Linked DNA regions of Homo sapiens: region 2 is linked to region 1. Evidence: promoter capture Hi-C in 16 types of primary human blood cells and fetal thymus (Javierre and others, 2016). All regions are on one chromosome and are shown on one strand. The core of a region is centred on a gene start or on the middle of the fragment in contact, and the rest is flanking DNA. Distances in the headings are between cores, read along the strand shown.

What was found. Contacts are between HindIII fragments. The CHiCAGO score rates a contact against its expected background, and 5 or more counts as called.
Region 2: a contact is called between a fragment that was not itself captured here and the fragment with the promoter of NFATC1 in region 1, in 1 of 17 cell types (non-activated CD4 T cells). The highest score is 5.4, in non-activated CD4 T cells.

The regions. Positions count from the first base shown.
Region 1 is chr18:79,391,766-79,399,437 of GRCh38, forward strand. It overlaps NFATC1 (nuclear factor of activated T cells 1), which reads left to right and starts at 4,165. Exons shown (of 10, transcript NM_001278669.2): 1 at 4,165-4,586. The coding sequence starts at 4,460. RefSeq lists enhancers at 1,041-1,566, 1,567-2,091, 2,796-2,915, 4,557-5,104 and silencers at 2,286-2,575, 4,001-4,400, 4,761-4,860. The HindIII fragment of the contact is 8,960 bases long and covers 1,833-7,672 here.
Region 2 is chr18:79,433,999-79,441,670 of GRCh38, forward strand. The region is part of intron 3 of NFATC1 (nuclear factor of activated T cells 1); the gene reads left to right. It overlaps LOC124904334 (a long non-coding RNA gene), which reads left to right. Exons shown (of 2, transcript XR_007066426.1): 1 at 1-7,672. Among named protein-coding and RNA genes, the nearest start is that of NFATC1, 42 kb to the left of the region's middle. The HindIII fragment of the contact is 1,308 bases long and covers 1,083-2,390 here.

The DNA of each region.
Region 1 (7,672 bases), core at 2,915-5,414:
AAAGAAAGAAAGAAAAAGAAAAAAAAAGTGAGCATGTATTTTGCCAGAGTCTGGAGATTAGAATTAAATTAGCAAACCAGAATTATAGAAAAAGCTATTTACTTTTAAGTAAACAGCTGAGATTTTTTTTTTTAAGTCAGTGTGAATGAAGCTCACAGCCATGGTTGGAGCTGAGAAAGAAGGATTTCCCTTTAGTTATGCACCTGTGTCAGCACCTTCTGACTTTCCTTCTAAAGTCTGGGGTGTTCCTGAGGATCCGTAAGTTTGGGGTTCAGGGTTTCTACAGCATGCTGTTACTTGTGAAACATCTCTTTAACCATGTCCCAGAGTTGCCCAGGAGTTTAAGACCAGCCTGAGCAACATAGCAAGACCTCATCTCAACAACAACAAAAATTAGAAATAAATTAGCCAGGTGTGGTGACATGTGCCTGTAGTCCCAGCTACTCAGAAGGCTGAGGCATGAGGATCACTTGGGCCCAGGAAGTTGGGGCTGCAGGGAGCCCTGTTCATGCCGCTGCACTCCAGCCTGCAAGACAGAGCAGAAAAAAAGAATCAGGATCCTGGGCAGAGGGAGGAGAGGGGACCGGGGTCCAGCAAGCACTTGGGGATTGACTGAATGGCGTTGGGGAGAGATGACTCCAAAGTCCTGGAGTGGGTGAGAATGACTGCGAGTGGCTTTTAGGTGGGGAGGTTCCTGCCTGGCCACTCCGGGAGGGGACGTGGGGCTGAAGGGTATCAGGTGCCGTGCTGAGCAGTTTGGCCTTGATCCTAATGCCCTGGACACACGTCTAGGGTAGGAAAGTTGACTGATCCATTGGTGATCTGAGTTTTTAGACATGGTGGTAGTCCATGAGGTGGGTGTTCATGCTAAGAGTTTAGACAGGGAAACCTATGAAGCCCTTAGCAACCCTCCAGGGAAGGGGCGTGGTTAAAGAGATGTTTCATAAGTAACAGCATGGTATAGAAACTCTGAACCCCAAATGTATGGGTCCTCAGGAACACCCCAGACTTTAGAAGGAAAGTCAGAAGGTGCTGACACGGGTGTATAACTAAAGGGAAATCCTTCTTTCTCAGCTCCAACCATGGCTGTGAGGTTCATTCACACTGACTTAAAAAAAAAAATCTCAGTTTACTTAAAAGTAAATAGCTTTTTCTATAATTCTGGTTTGCTAATTTAATCCTAGTCTCCAGACCCTGGCTAAATAAATGCCCATTTCTCCAGATGGTCTCAAGAGTCTCTGGACATCGTGGGGGCCCTTCCCTGTTGGTTGGAAGGTGCCTCAGGAAGAAGGGGGTGGATTCTGAGTTGAGTCAAAACCTCAAAGACCCCTGATGGGAAAAGCTCTCAAGTGACCACCGCTGTGGGCCAGAATGCAAAACTGCAGGAACAGAACATTCGCAGGAACAGAACACAGTCGTATTAAGTGATTTTCCCGAGCAGGAAGTGGCATCTGGCCTGCGGTTCAGTAGGGGGAGGAAAGGGTGGGCGCACCTGCCCCTGGCTGGCGCACCTGCCAGGTAGCCCCACGCGGCACCGCGTGTGCCGAGCGCCCCTGAGGATGGAAAGCCCCACGCGGGGCAGGTGGCACCCACCCTCCGAAGACGGGACGGGATGGAGCGTTGAGCTTCGGGGCAGCTCCGGCCCGGCCCGCGCTGGAGACGCCCGCATCTGCCAGGATGGCGTCTCATAGCCCTGGTGCTCACACATGACGCCAGGAAGCCCCAGCAACAGTGACCGCCCAGGCTCTAGAAAATATTGGACGGGGTGGATGAACACCCAAGTGCGCTCCAGGAGAAGGGATTTGGCACCCCAAGGGGCTTTTAAAACGGTAAGCTTCTAGGGGTGTCTTTGCCCCCAATAATCCATAGAAACAACAGTCATCTAAAAATAGTCTTGTTTTCTGTCCTAAGCTCCTTTTAACTTTGTTAGTCATCACCAATCCTAAAATAAAACCCGTGTAACGTCTCCCCTAGTAGCGGCTATAAACAAACCTACGAGGAGGCAGGAGGAAGAGGAAAGGGGCGCAGGGCGCTCGGGGAGCAGAGCCGGGGGCCCGCGGTGGCCGCAGAGGCCGGGCCGGGGCGCAGAGGCCGGGCGAGCTGGCCGCGCTCTGGGCCGCCGCCTCCGGAACTCCCTGCGCCTGGCGCGCGGCCACCGTGGTCCCGGCAACGGCATTAAACAGAGGGAAACAGACCCGGGATTCCGTCACCCGGGCGGGGGGATAAGGACGGCTTTGAGAGCAGACAGGAAAAGGGAGCTTTTCTGCATGGGGTGAAAAAATTATTTATTGAAGGAGGAGGAGGCGGCAGCGGAGGAAGGGGAGGGGCGGGAGGAGGAGGAAGAGCCGGCCGCCCCCGCCCCGGCCCCGGCTCCTCAGGAGCCAAGGGCAGCCTCGCCAGGTCGGTCCCGGGCTCGAGGACCGCGGCTGGGGTCGAGGGGCTCAGTCTCCCACGTGACCGGCTGGGCGCGCCCCGCCAGACCCGGCCTCGGGATTCCCTCCTCCCGGCGAGTCTCCGCCCGCCCCGTCCTGGAGGTGGGGAGAAGGAGGGCGGGGCGGGGGGGACGGAAACTCTCCCCGCCAAATCCTGGCCCCAGGCCTGGGGACACTCGCGGCGGGAAGATTTGGAGGGGAGGGGAGGGGGAGGGGCGTGGGGGCGCGGCCTCGCTGGAGTCCCCCTGACCCCCCGACCCCCGCCCACCGGCCTGGGCGTCCTCCCGCGGCCCCTCCTCCCCTCCCGGCGCCCGGTGCTCTGGGGCGCGTGCCACGCCTGGCTCGGCGCCGTAGGGGCCCCCGCAGGTAGAGACCCCTGGAAATGGCCTCGACGCCGCAGGAGCGAGGCGGCCACCACCCCGCTAATCCGGGCACGTCTCTCCAGGCCGAGGCCTGCGGTGGAAAAGCCGGGGTTCCATTTGTGCTGAGTCGGGGCGGCCGAATGGAGCCAGGCCTCGGGACGCGGGACGGACGGGCTCTGGCCGCGCACCTTCGCGGGCTCTGCAGCGCCCGACCGCCTCCCCCGGCAGGGAGGAGGCGCTTGTGGGGGGCACCCACGGGGCACAGTGATCCCTGGGGGTCTGCGGACCTCCTGGGCCCCGCAGCAGACACGAGTTTAGCCTTTGGGTTTAGTTTAAATCACATAAGGGTGTCGTGCAATCGATTTATGGTTTCTACACACCAGACACTTTAACCTCCAACCCCCCCCATCCAAAGCCAACAAGAAAATGCGGTGCCGTGTTGGCAGCTGAGCTGCGCCCGAAGAGACGCAGGGAGACGTAAGAGAGGAAAGTGTGAGTGGCCGGGGGGCCTCCCCCCGTCAGAAGTCGCGCAGTCGCGCCCATAAAACGCCCCCTCCGGGCGGCTAGGGCAGGTGAGCGCGTCCCCGGGCCTCCCCACGCCGGCCCCTGCCACAGGCCGTCTAGGTCGAGCAGATATTTACAGAATAAAAATGACAATAACTCGACGTCCCGGGACGGCCACGCAATCTGTTAGTAATTTAGCGGGATGGGAATTTCCTTTCTAGGGCCTGCCAGTGAAGCGCTTTTCCAAATTTCCACAGCGGGGGAAGCCTGCGATTTTACATAATGACTTCAGCATGCCGGGCTTTCTCGACACCCCTCCCCGGCCCCCGGCCCCCGCCCCCCGCCCCTTTTCCAGCAGGGCCGGGCTCCCTCCGGACACCCGCGTGGACTCAGGCGTCCCGTCTGGCCCGTTCGCCCCCGTTTCCCCCGCCAGCCCCAGCGCCCCCCTGCCCGGCCCCCGGATTCCCCGTTCCCGCCCCTACGCCCCCATCCCCTCCCCGTGCGCCCCTCCCCGTGCGCCCCCCTCCCCGTGCGCCCCCCCTCCCCGTGCGCCCCCCTCCCCGTGCGCCCCCCCTCCCCGGGCGCCCCCCTCCCCGGGCGCCCCCCCTCCCCGTGCGCCCCCCCCTCCCCGTGCGCCCCCCCTCCCCGTGCGCGCCCCGCCTCTTGCGCCCCTGCCCCCAGGCGAGCGGCTGCCGCGGCGCGGGGAGGGGCGGGCGCTCGGCGACTCGTCCCCGGGGCCCCGCGCGGGCCCGGGCAGCAGGGGCGTGATGTCACGGCAGGGAGGGGGCGCGGGAGCCGCCGGGCCGGCGGGGAGGCGGGGGAGGTGTTTTCCAGCTTTAAAAAGGCAGGAGGCAGAGCGCGGCCCTGCGTCAGAGCGAGACTCAGAGGCTCCGAACTCGCCGGCGGAGTCGCCGCGCCAGATCCCAGCAGCAGGGCGCGGGCACCGGGGCGCGGGCAGGGCTCGGAGCCACCGCGCAGGTCCTAGGGCCGCGGCCGGGCCCCGCCACGCGCGCACACGCCCCTCGATGACTTTCCTCCGGGGCGCGCGGCGCTGAGCCCGGGGCGAGGGCTGTCTTCCCGGAGACCCGACCCCGGCAGCGCGGGGCGGCCGCTTCTCCTGTGCCTCCGCCCGCCGCTCCACTCCCCGCCGCCGCCGCGCGGATGCCAAGCACCAGCTTTCCAGTCCCTTCCAAGTTTCCACTTGGCCCTGCGGCTGCGGTCTTCGGGAGAGGAGAAACTTTGGGGCCCGCGCCGCGCGCCGGCGGCACCATGAAGTCAGCGGAGGAAGGTAAGCCCCGCGCGGCCTCCGCCCCCGGACCCCTGCGCCCCCCACGGCCCGGGCCGCGCCCCCCGACCCCGCCCCCGTCGCCCGCACGGAGGGGTCCGGGCCAGAGAACGAGGTCGGCCGGGTCTGTGCGCCCAGGGAGGGGCGCGGCGCGGACCGGGAACGGCGTCCCCCAGCTCCCAGCAGCCCGGTTCCGAGCGCGCCTTCTGCCAATAGGTGTCTCCTCTGCCCCAGCGCTGAGGGCGCGAGGCGAGGCCGCCGCGGGTCCCGCCGAGGAAGCGGCTCGCAGGCCGGCGATTTGGGGACGGGCGAGGCTGGGCCGTCAGGACCACAGAGGGCACGTGGGAGGGAGGAAGGGAGGCTTCCTTGGGAGTGAAGGATGCCCCGTGTCTTCCTGAGCGAGGCAGAGCCACCCTCTGGCGCCAAGATCGCGGTTTGGGGGTTCTGCGCCCCCCACCCCCACCCCGAGCTCGTGGCGGCGTCTCCCTCGCGCCGCGCCCCTGAATTCCCCAGGGCCGAGCCCGTCACGCCGGCTCCTGGACCTGCAGGACCAAAAGATCCAAAGCGCGGCCGCAGCACAGCCCCGAATTTAAGCCATTTTGAAATCCTATAGGCAGGAGTTCCAGCCAGAGAAGATGTTTCAGGCAAGTTTGAAAAGGAACCGCCAAGTTTCGAGCTGCTTCTTTATAGTGAAAAAAAGATGGCACAGTGTGGGTCCCTGAAACCCGGTGTGGGGGGCGCTGAGACCCCCCTGCGGCGCATCTCACATTCCAGTCCCCCACCTTAGCCCGTCCCCGGCACACACCCCTGGCGATGCCGGGTGGGCTCCTGCAAGTGGCTTTGAAAATACCCTTGCAGAGGTGTGAGCATACGAGTTAGGGATTAGGGATTGCAATGCTAATGGAAATTGGAAGACGCTTTTCCAAATTCCTTACCAGCTCTGAAATATTTTATATAATTTATTTAAAGAGCGCCAGCACACCTGCCAACATATGTACTTCATAAGGGCAGACGTCCTTCCGAGCGCTGCCGCTTCCTGCGCGACCCTGATAACTGCGGGGCTTGCTTGAGAACCGGGCTCCCCCAGCTCTGGAAAACTCGCTGGTCTTAGCAGAGCTGAGCACAGGGCCGTGAGCTCCACGGAGGGGGGTCCGTGTGGTCGGTGCCCTGACGCTTCACGGGACGGGAGGTAGACACCACTTCATCCCAATGTTAGAAAATGTTGACATGTTTAAACCATGTCCCGTGTCAGTGTTTTACACAATGTGCTCTTGCTAGTAGCAGAGTTTAAAAAATTTTTTTTTGTTGGAGTTTCGGTTTTAAATCCTGGGACACTTACGCCGCAGTGTTCATTATCACTCCCTTTAGAAAGGCAGGTCTTTCCAAGTTCAGATCTCTGTACCTGAAGAGCCGGTGGCCGACCTGTAGTAAGGAGCCCCTTTCTTTTACGCAAGGAAAAAACACGACGGGGCAGTGGCTAGTTTTCGTGTTTCCTACTGAAGAAAATAAGCTCGAAAAGGTCCCTGCTGCAAGGCAGTGCGCCGGGCAGCGACGCCCGACCGACATGGGTGTATTTTATGAGGGCTGCAGAACTGGGCCAGCCGGAAAGTGTGATCTAGTCCTTGATACACACAGGCCGGCAGCATGGGGACACGCGTGGTTTCCACACCAGCCATCGCTGAGACCACCGGGAAGAACTCTGAGTCCTTCTGAGTAGGCCCCACGAGGCCATTCCTGGCCCATCTGAGGACCTGGGCGCCTCCCCTGCGTCCCTCGGGTTTCGGGACCATCTGGGTGGAAGCTCATTAGGCGTCGTGGTTCCTGAAGGCCCCGGGCTTGCTTCCTCATGGAGAACGCAGAGAAGTACAGGCCTGTAAGTAGCCACCCAGTCAGAAGTCGCTCCAGACACAATGCCCCACGGGCTGGGGCCAAACAAAGCTCACCCTGTTCTCTGCCACTTAACTTCACAGCGTTGTTTCCCAGCTCAGATTAGAAAATGGCAGGGCGCTGGCACCCCGCTTCATCACACCCAGCGGGGCTTCTGTCTCCGCAGACATCCCCAGCCTCTGGGAGGATGCGTCCAAGCTAAACATTTCCATGGAGACACCCAGTGTCTGTGGAACGGGCAGCTTTGAATCTGGACCAATAGCTCTGAACCATTTGCAGGAAGGAAGCCCAGCACTGGGGCGGGGGAAGGGGGGGCTCCTAGGAGCAGCAGGGGAGCCGCCCCACCGACCCCTTCTCTGGGATGGAGACCAGTGCAGTCCTAGGACAGCAGCAGTGAGCCTCCATCCCTGCAGGGCCCGCGGCCTGGGGCCACCAGCAGGCGGGACAGTTTAGCAAAAAGTTTTAGTCTAAACAGATGATAAGGGCTGTCATTTGTGTATAATTTTATGGTGGGGGTAAAAAGGTGGCTGGAGTTTTAAAAACAATGTACAGGCCGGGCGCCGCGGCTCACGCCTGTAATCCCAGCACTTTGGGAGGCCGAGGCAAGCGGATCACGAGGTCAAGAGATCGAGACCATCCTGGTCAACATGGTGAAACCCCGTCTCTACTAAAACTACAAAAATTAGCTGAGAGTGGTGGCGGGTGCCTGTAGTCCCAGCTACTCTGGAGGCTGAGGCAGGAGAATCGCTTGAACTCGGAAGGCGGAGGTTGCAGTGAGCAGAGATTGCACCACTGCACTCCAGCCTGGGTGACAGAGCGAGACTCCGTCTCAAACAAACAAAAACCTGTACAATGGAAAGAGAATGAAACGTTGTGGCTTCTCAACAGAAAACAGAACTTCCACTTGCCCAAGGTCGGCAAAAGCAGCAAAACTACAACAAAACAACGCTCCAACATCCATCCCAAAGTCAGAAGTATTATTAGAAACTAAATCAGGCCACACGGAACGATGGCTTATCACTGGAGAAAACCAGCCAGTGAAAGGGTCGCGGGAGAAGCCCGGGGACGACCCTGGGACTGGAGGGTTTCTCGCCTCTGGAAAAGGCAGTGCCCGCGGGGCAGGCCAGAGGGAGCGCTCCGAGGAGCTTTGGGGTTGCCAGCCTTGACACGCGCACCCCTCCGCCCGGGCCGGCTCCCCTCCG
Region 2 (7,672 bases), core at 487-2,986, 40 kb after region 1:
TGGTGTGGATGTTTTGGGGGTTGATTCTCCCCTCTCTAAAGCCTCTGAACTTGGAGGCAGGAGTTCTCACCAGCAGCACCAGCCTCGCCTGGTGGGGGACCCTCAGAAATGCAGGTTCTGTGGCCCACCCAGGCTTGCAGGATCCCATACTCTGGGCTTGGGTGCTGGGGGGCACCAGGGCTCAAGGTGCTCCCCGAGGAGAGGAGGAGTGGCTTCCAGAGCGGGCCTGGGCCTGGCAGCCACATCCCTGCCGGGGTAGGCCTGGGCCTGGCAACCCTGCAGCCGCGTCCCTGCTGGGGTGGGCCTGACTCCCCCGGGCTGTGGTGTGGCTTCCTCACCTTCCTCACACCTTGCGGGAAAGCCACGTGGAGTTAGGCTGTCGAGGGAGGGGTGTAATGACCGCGCCAGGGACGGGCAGCGTCTGCACAGAGCCATGCTCCCTCTGCACCCCAGGTGTTGATGTGGATCCCGGGTAGCCGTGGGTGTTGGCATTTTCTTCGTTCCACCTGTTACCTCGTCAGCTATAGGCCCCAGGCCCTAGATCTGCTGCTTTGGCAGCCACAGAGCAGCAAGTGTGTCCAGCCCCAGGGCTCCAGGCTACGCGGCAGCACAGAGGATGTTTTCCGAGCACACCCCAACAGCAAAAAACCGGGTGCCCCAGCCCCGTTATTTAGGGAATGATGCAAGCCGGAAGGGGTGTTCAGCAGAGTGCCTCGTATTTTTATTTTCTTCCATTTAGATAAATAGTGGAGAGAAGGTGGCCGCAGGGACAAATGGCTGTTTGCCAACGCAGCAGCCGGCGGCAGGGAATTAGCGGGCAGGGCGCTGGGGTGAGGCGTTTTCGCCAGCACTTGCAGATGATGTTAATGTGATGTTTGTGGCCTGTGTGCTTGATGCCAATTAGTACCTCCCTCGTTGGTGCTTGAAGCAAGGAAATGCGGGAGACACCTGAGCGCACAGTGGCCCGTTTGACATTTAAAGTCTCCACCCTCCCAGGTGGGAAAGGTCAGACAGCGCTGCACCACGCTCCGTCACTGCAGGCCTGCACCTCCCCATCCCTGCCTCGGTTTTTACTGACCGAAAGCTTGTTATTGCTCAGTGGGAAGGATATTAGATAGGACAAGAAACGAGGCTGTGAAAGGAGGAGTGGAAATAAAGCAATAGAGAAATAATGGCCCAGTCCACCCTATTTGCTGTAAATTATGTCGGTGAGGGGCACTGACGTCGCCCTTTTCACTGTATCTGGATGAGGGGCGGGTGTAGGAATCGAGGCTGTTACTTGGAGGGTAAAGCAGGACCATGAGTGTGGAGAGAGCTCTGAGGTTTCTGTTTGTTTTGTTTTTTGGTTTGTTTGTTTTTTTTTTTTTTTTGAGACGGAGTCTCGCTCTCACCCGGGCTGGAGTGCAGTGGTGTGATCTCAGCTCACTGCAACCTCTGTCTCCTGGGTTCAAGTGATTCTCCTGCCTCAGCCTCCCGAGTAGCTGGGACTACAGGCAGCCCTGGGTTTTAATGGATGTATTTTCACCTGCCTGTGAGTAGCGCCGGTGCCTGGTGCCGCCCGTCTCTGCGGACACAGCTCAGTGCTTGGGTACTCTCCCTGCGTCTTCTGGAATCTTCTGGAATCCCGTCTCTGGTTCTGCCATCTGGGTGTCTTGGGCTGAGGGTGCAGAAATCTATCAATACAGATGCCACTGAGAGGATCCAGGTGTTCTGGAGGACTCAGGAAACTTGAAACAGTAATTAAAAATATCTTTAAAATGTACCCTCAACAATTATTCCAAATCAAGTGGCCCGTGTGTGCGCAGCAGCGACACGGGAGAGGCTGGCTCTGCGTTTCCACAGAAGGAGCCCTTTCCATTGAAACGCGGGAGAAAACGGTCCCCTGCACGGAGAATGTCAGGAGCTGTCAGCATATCTCATTTGTAGAAATTAGTAATTTAAAGAGTTTTGTGATGTATCTGTGGCAGAGTGGATTTCTGTCTCTGCAAGTGTGAGGTAAAAGCAGCTAAAAAGAGGGGGTTTTGGGGGTTAGTTTTCTCTTTCAGTTGGTGGACCACAAATTGGATAAAAATAGAATTTGTGCATAATTTAAAAACAAACGAGAATAGAAAGCTCTCAGTTGCCGTGGAAGCTCCTCGTAACCGCAGACGTGCCCTCGGTGCCGTCGGGTTATTTTAGTACATCCTTTGACGCGGCCCCTTTCCCGCTTTTCAGAAACGAGGCTCATCGCACTGGCCTGGGGGCGCGAGGACGAGGCCGTGGGTAGTGGGCGCTGCGGGCGGCTGGTCAGAGCCACTGGGAGCCGTTGGGAACAACTGGCGCGGGAGTTTCCTGCATTTGAGAAATGCTGTTCTCTTCGTTGTGAATCGTCTGTCCGCTGCATCTCAAAAAGCTTGTCCAGAAAATTAAAGCCCGCTGTCTCCTGCAGTGCAGCTGAGCCCTGGAGGGTGGCGGGGGGCCGGGGGATGTGGGTGTCAGCTCTCGCGGCCAGGGGCACGCTGTGCCCCCGCGCCCGGTATCCCCGTCCTCCCGCACCCGGCGTCCGCGTCCTCCCACGCCCGCTGTCTCCGTCCTCCCCATCCCCATGTGTTTCGCAGTTGGGAAGTGAAGCACGTGAGCAGAACGCAGCACCTTCTCTCCAGGAAGCATTCGGAGCATGGACTCTGGGTTAGGAAAGGGTGTTTGCTCCTCTGGATAGGTGCTCGCTCTTACTTGTGGGTGCTGAGGGGCGTGAGGGGGTCCGGCATCCGGGTACCTGTGGGCGCTGAGGGGCGTGAGGGGGTCCGGCATCCGGGGCTTCTCCCATTTAGGGCCTTTCCTTCAGAGGGAAGGAGGCCAGCCCCCTCCAGTGAGCACTGAGCGTGCCCCCTGCCGTCTCTGTGGGGATGTCATTGTTCCCACGCCGGGGAGAGACCACCCCAGGCCAGCCCCTATTCTTCTGGCCACATTGCCATGATCACACCGTCCGCACCCTGAGGCCACCCCCATTACGGCTGCCACGGCGCTAAAAACACCAGCATCAAAGCAACAGGGCCGTGGTTTAGCCTGGAAGAGCGGGGCCCTGGAGCCGTCTGCGAGGGGGTCTGGGTGGTTCAGGATGGCCGGCAGCCCCTGGTGGACGTGGTCCCTGCGGGGTCTGGCGGGACCTCGGCCATGGTGATGGGTGCGCCCCCTCTGCAGGGTGGGGCCTGCGGGTAAGGACAGTCCCGCCCCCTGTGCGTGTGAGGGGATAGTGGAGAGAGGGGTCTGGCGTGGGCCTCACTGCTCCTGGGAAACCAAAGATGAAGACGCCTGCTTAGGACTCACCTTGCCCTGGTAGAACAAGTGACTCAGACAGAGCCTCCCAGAGGCTTCTGGCCAGGCAGGGAGTGACCAGCAGCGCAGCCAGCCTCAGCTCCTGCCCACACAGCCCCCTTGTCACCGGCTCCTCCTGCCCCTGCTCCAGCACCTTGGCCACCAGTTCTCGGTGGGCCGGTCTGGATCTGCCGATGCCGGGACCTCGCCAGGCCGCTGGTTGCAGGGGAGGCTGAGGGGGCGTCCGCCTGCTGTCTGCTTCTCACCAGCATTTCCAGTGAGGCATGAAAGTGATGCGTGGCGGATGTTTCCCTCTGGCCTCAGCTTTCCCCCAAATCCCAGCTCACACTGAGTGTCCTGATGGTGGCACCTCGGGCAGCCGCCACCCTCTGCCCTCCACCCTCTGCCCTGACGGCAGGCTCTGCCTGAGGGGGAGGGTCTCTCTGTACACACAGTCTCCTCACCCTGGAGGGCCTGCTCTGCTCTCAACGGAGCTGGAACCAGGAGTTCGCGAGTGCTCTGGGTGGCTGCTGGCTTTTCTCCTTGTCTCACCTCCTCATCCGCACACAGCCTCTGCCCTCAGCGCTGCTCACCTCGGTATGTAGGCAGCCGGCATCAGGATGGTCTGGGGTGAGACAGGCAGTGTTCTTCCCCTTCTCTGGCCAGGGAGGGTGGAGAAGCACCCGGGCACAGCCATTGAGGCCTTTTCGTGCAACTCATTGCCTTTCTGGGCGTGAAGGTGGAGGCTGGTCCTCCACCTGCGTGTTCTCCATCTGGGGGACTGTGGTCCCGGAGGAGACCTGGAGTCCGGCTCCCCGCTCCGTCCGAGGAGGAGCTGAGCGGCGTGAGCAGTGCCCGCCCTGGTCACTCTGCCTTGCTTTCCTCCTCTCTGTTTCTGGTTGTGCCTCCTTCCTTCCCTCCTGCTCTCTTTGCCGTGGACTGCAGCCCCCTCGCCAGATGTGTTCCTCACATGAGTCAACCCGTCCTTGGCCTGCGTCCTCCACTGCTCGTGGCAGCTACACTCTCCCGGAGGTGGCCGGGAAGGGCCCAGGGCCTTGAGAAGATGTCTTTGCAGCACGTCCCCGGCCCTCGGCCTCCACCTCCATGGCACCCACCATCCCACGGGGGCACGTGGACCTCTGTGGGATATAGCCTGACCTCTGACCCAGGGGTCAAATAACTCAGGTCTGTTTACCAAGTCACCAAAATAACCTGCCCGATAGCATCTCACCCATCACACGGGAGGCCGGGCTCGTGTGAATAATTAATAGGTCACTGGAATGTGAAACGAGAAGCCTCGGCCCGTTCTGAAACAGCATTTTAGGTTTGCAGCTTATAATATTGTCAGTTAGGAGAAGGGCCAACTGAGTCTGCAAAGAGGTGAGGGCGGGTGGTCTGGGATCCTGCCTCAGCCGCGCGGGTGAGAGGGGCGGGCGGGTCAGGCGAAGACTCAGAGTCAGGAGGCCAGACTGGCCCCAGGGAGGGCTCCTGGCCATACCCCAAGCTCAGGACGCAGGGTGGGGCGGGCCCGCTGGTGCCCACAGTGGCCTTGGTGGGCCTCTCCTTCCATTGCCCAGCTTGTAGGTCAACTTTGCCTCCACAGATCCGTAACAGACGTTTTTTCTGTCATGTAAGAAACTTGACAGCTGAAGACCAAGGAGTGGAGCCTCCCGTGAGGCAGCTCTTCTTTTCCGGTTGTTAAAATGCGCGTCGGGCCAGTGGTTCTGACTAATTCTCACTTTGTGTGGTACCTTCAGCTGGCAGGGGCTCGGGGAGTGTTCAGTACCGTGAGGAGCAGGTTCCTGAGAGCCCGTGAATACCGTGGACAGATTACCACAGCACGCACTGTTCCACGCAGGGCCTCATCCACGCTTTCTTAAGTGGTTTGCCACACACAGGAGCTCCTGGTTCTCCATGTCCCCTGCCAGGCAGGGCTGTTAAACTGGAAAGCCGGGGAGGGACGTCGCTGGGACACATTGTTATCTGATCAGAGCTCCGAGGCCCCACCAGGAGCTGTGCTATTGCAGAACCTCAAACAGCAGCCGCTCCGGCCCCGCCCCAGGAGCCACGCAGAGGCCCACGCACGGGGAGGACGCCGTGGGGTGGAAACTAAAGTGCAGGTCTGACCACAAAACCACACGCCACGGCACCGCTGCTGCCAAATGCCGGAGGCCTGCAGGAGGCACGGATTAATTTTTTATGAGTCTGCCTTGGAACCTAGACAACAGCCCTCTCCTCTTTCAGCACAATTTCAGGGCGAATGACCGTCACTTCCCTGGACTGCTAAGCGCATAAACGCACAGGGAATTTCCTAGTTCCACATACGCCGTTGTTCCCGCAGCCCATGCAGCTGGGAGAGCACACATGGTTGCCGTCGGGCTGTGTCTGTTTTCCCAGGAGCAAGAACTCTCAGAAGTGCAGTGTTGAAGCCCGAGCCTTCCCCGTGTCAGCTTTTATGATGAACGAGGATTCACCATTTATTTCTCCCCTAAAGCAAAGCCCACGGGCTCTGTTTTGAGCGATGGGGACAGATGCTCGGTGCTGCTGGGAAGGTGTTCACGGGGCAGATTCGCTGTGTCAGGAGACCAACGTGGAATGAGGTCGGCCCAGCCAGTCACTGCTTAAAAACAGTAATGACAATATTTGAGAAAATGGGTGGAATTTTGTGGAGATTTACTGGCACGGGGAAGGCGTGTGGCCTCTGGCAGGTCTGCGACACTGATTTCTAACTACCTGTTCCACAGCTCCACTGCCTGGAAAAACTGGCAAAAATGTGGCCTGGGTCTCCTGACAGGCCTGGCCATTGGAGTGGGGGTGTGCAGCTGAGACAGGAAATACGAGGCGCATGAGTGTCCCCAAGCCCAGATCCTCAGCCTCCAAAATCTTCTATTAGTAATTTCAGAGCTTTGGCTTCTTGGTGCTTTGGGAAAATTTAAGATGACGCGTGGGCTCTGGCACGGCCGTTGCTAGTGACCTCTCCTAATAGCGCAGAAGGGCCTCCCAGGAGGCTTTCCTAGGTAGAGAGGGGTCTGCACGCCCACTGGAACATGCTCTATCCCAGCCTCAGAAAACCCACATTTGGTGCAGGTGGGACAGGAGGAGTGGACACGTCACCTGGAGACCACATGAGAAGCGGCCATCTGCAGCAGCAATCACCCCGTGGGGAGGCGGCGCCCTGGCAGCTCTCATGTGGGGCCTGGTCCTTCCTCGCTGCCTGAGCAATGGGCCCTGCTTCCCCGCAGACACCGTGGTGCCCCTGGGCCACACCCAGCAGGTGTCCAGTGACCGAGGGTGGTGTTGGCCATGGCAGGTCCCTGCCCGTTTCTCCGAGGACCTGGGGCTGTGACCCAGCTGGGTTCTCCCGGGAAGGAGCGGCCACTGTCTGCACTGTCCAGTGCTGAGGGTGGCAGCCATTTCTGAAGCCTCCCAGGTTTGTGCCCTGCTGTGTCTGAACAGCTCCGGAGTGCAGGGTCTCTGTGTCAGTGCCGGTTCTAAGAGGAACGAGATGTGGTTTCAGAGACACTCCTCTTCTCTGAGGAGCTGCTGGGCGGGACGGCTGCTTGCTTTCTTTGTCTGTGACGTTGGTGGCTGTTCCTTGCCCAGGCCCTGCCCAGGCCAGACGTGGGAGTGGCGGCTGGGAGCACCCATGGGCGTGTGCCCGTCTGGGCTGGGCTCGTGTCCGTGGACCTGCCTCAAGCCACACCTCCCTCCTCCAGGCAGGACACCGGGCCTTGTCTGTGGACAGAGGCGCTTTGCTGGGAACAGCACAGATGGCCCCTGGGCCCTGCGGAGCCGAGACGCACCATCATACACACTTGGAGCACATAGACTGACCAGGTCTCACCCTGCGAGGCTCCCTGAGGCCATGTCCTAGGGAAATAGAAGGTTTCACCCGGAGATTGGGGAGTGCAGGGCTGTGGCGCTGCAGGGTGCGGGCCCTGAAGGAGGGGCAGGGGTGCTGCTGGATGGTGGCTCTTCCACCCCAGGATTCCTCGGGCCCTTCACCCCTGTGTGTCTGGACTGGGTATCGCTGTAGCTGTCGGGCTCTGGAGGTGCACATGGCTGCTGGGCGGGCAGCGCTCCTGGGCCTCTCTCCCCCGTGATTTCGGTTTTGATGTGTTTGAGCCACTGACCAGCAGGCTTAGGGGCCATTCTGGAGCTGGGAGGGCTTGTGGGGGAGGCAGGATGAACAGGGGCTGCTTGCCGGTCCTCAGGCCACCCTGCCAGCTCCTTGATGTGTCTCCCTGAGATCAGCCAGGGCATCCCGGCTGTGGGTGGGCTGTGACCTGAGCCCGTCAGGCCCTGCTGGGGTAGACTGGGGAGAAGTGCTGAGCGGAAACCACCTCACTTCTGACAAATGACAAGCGCTCCTGCCGCT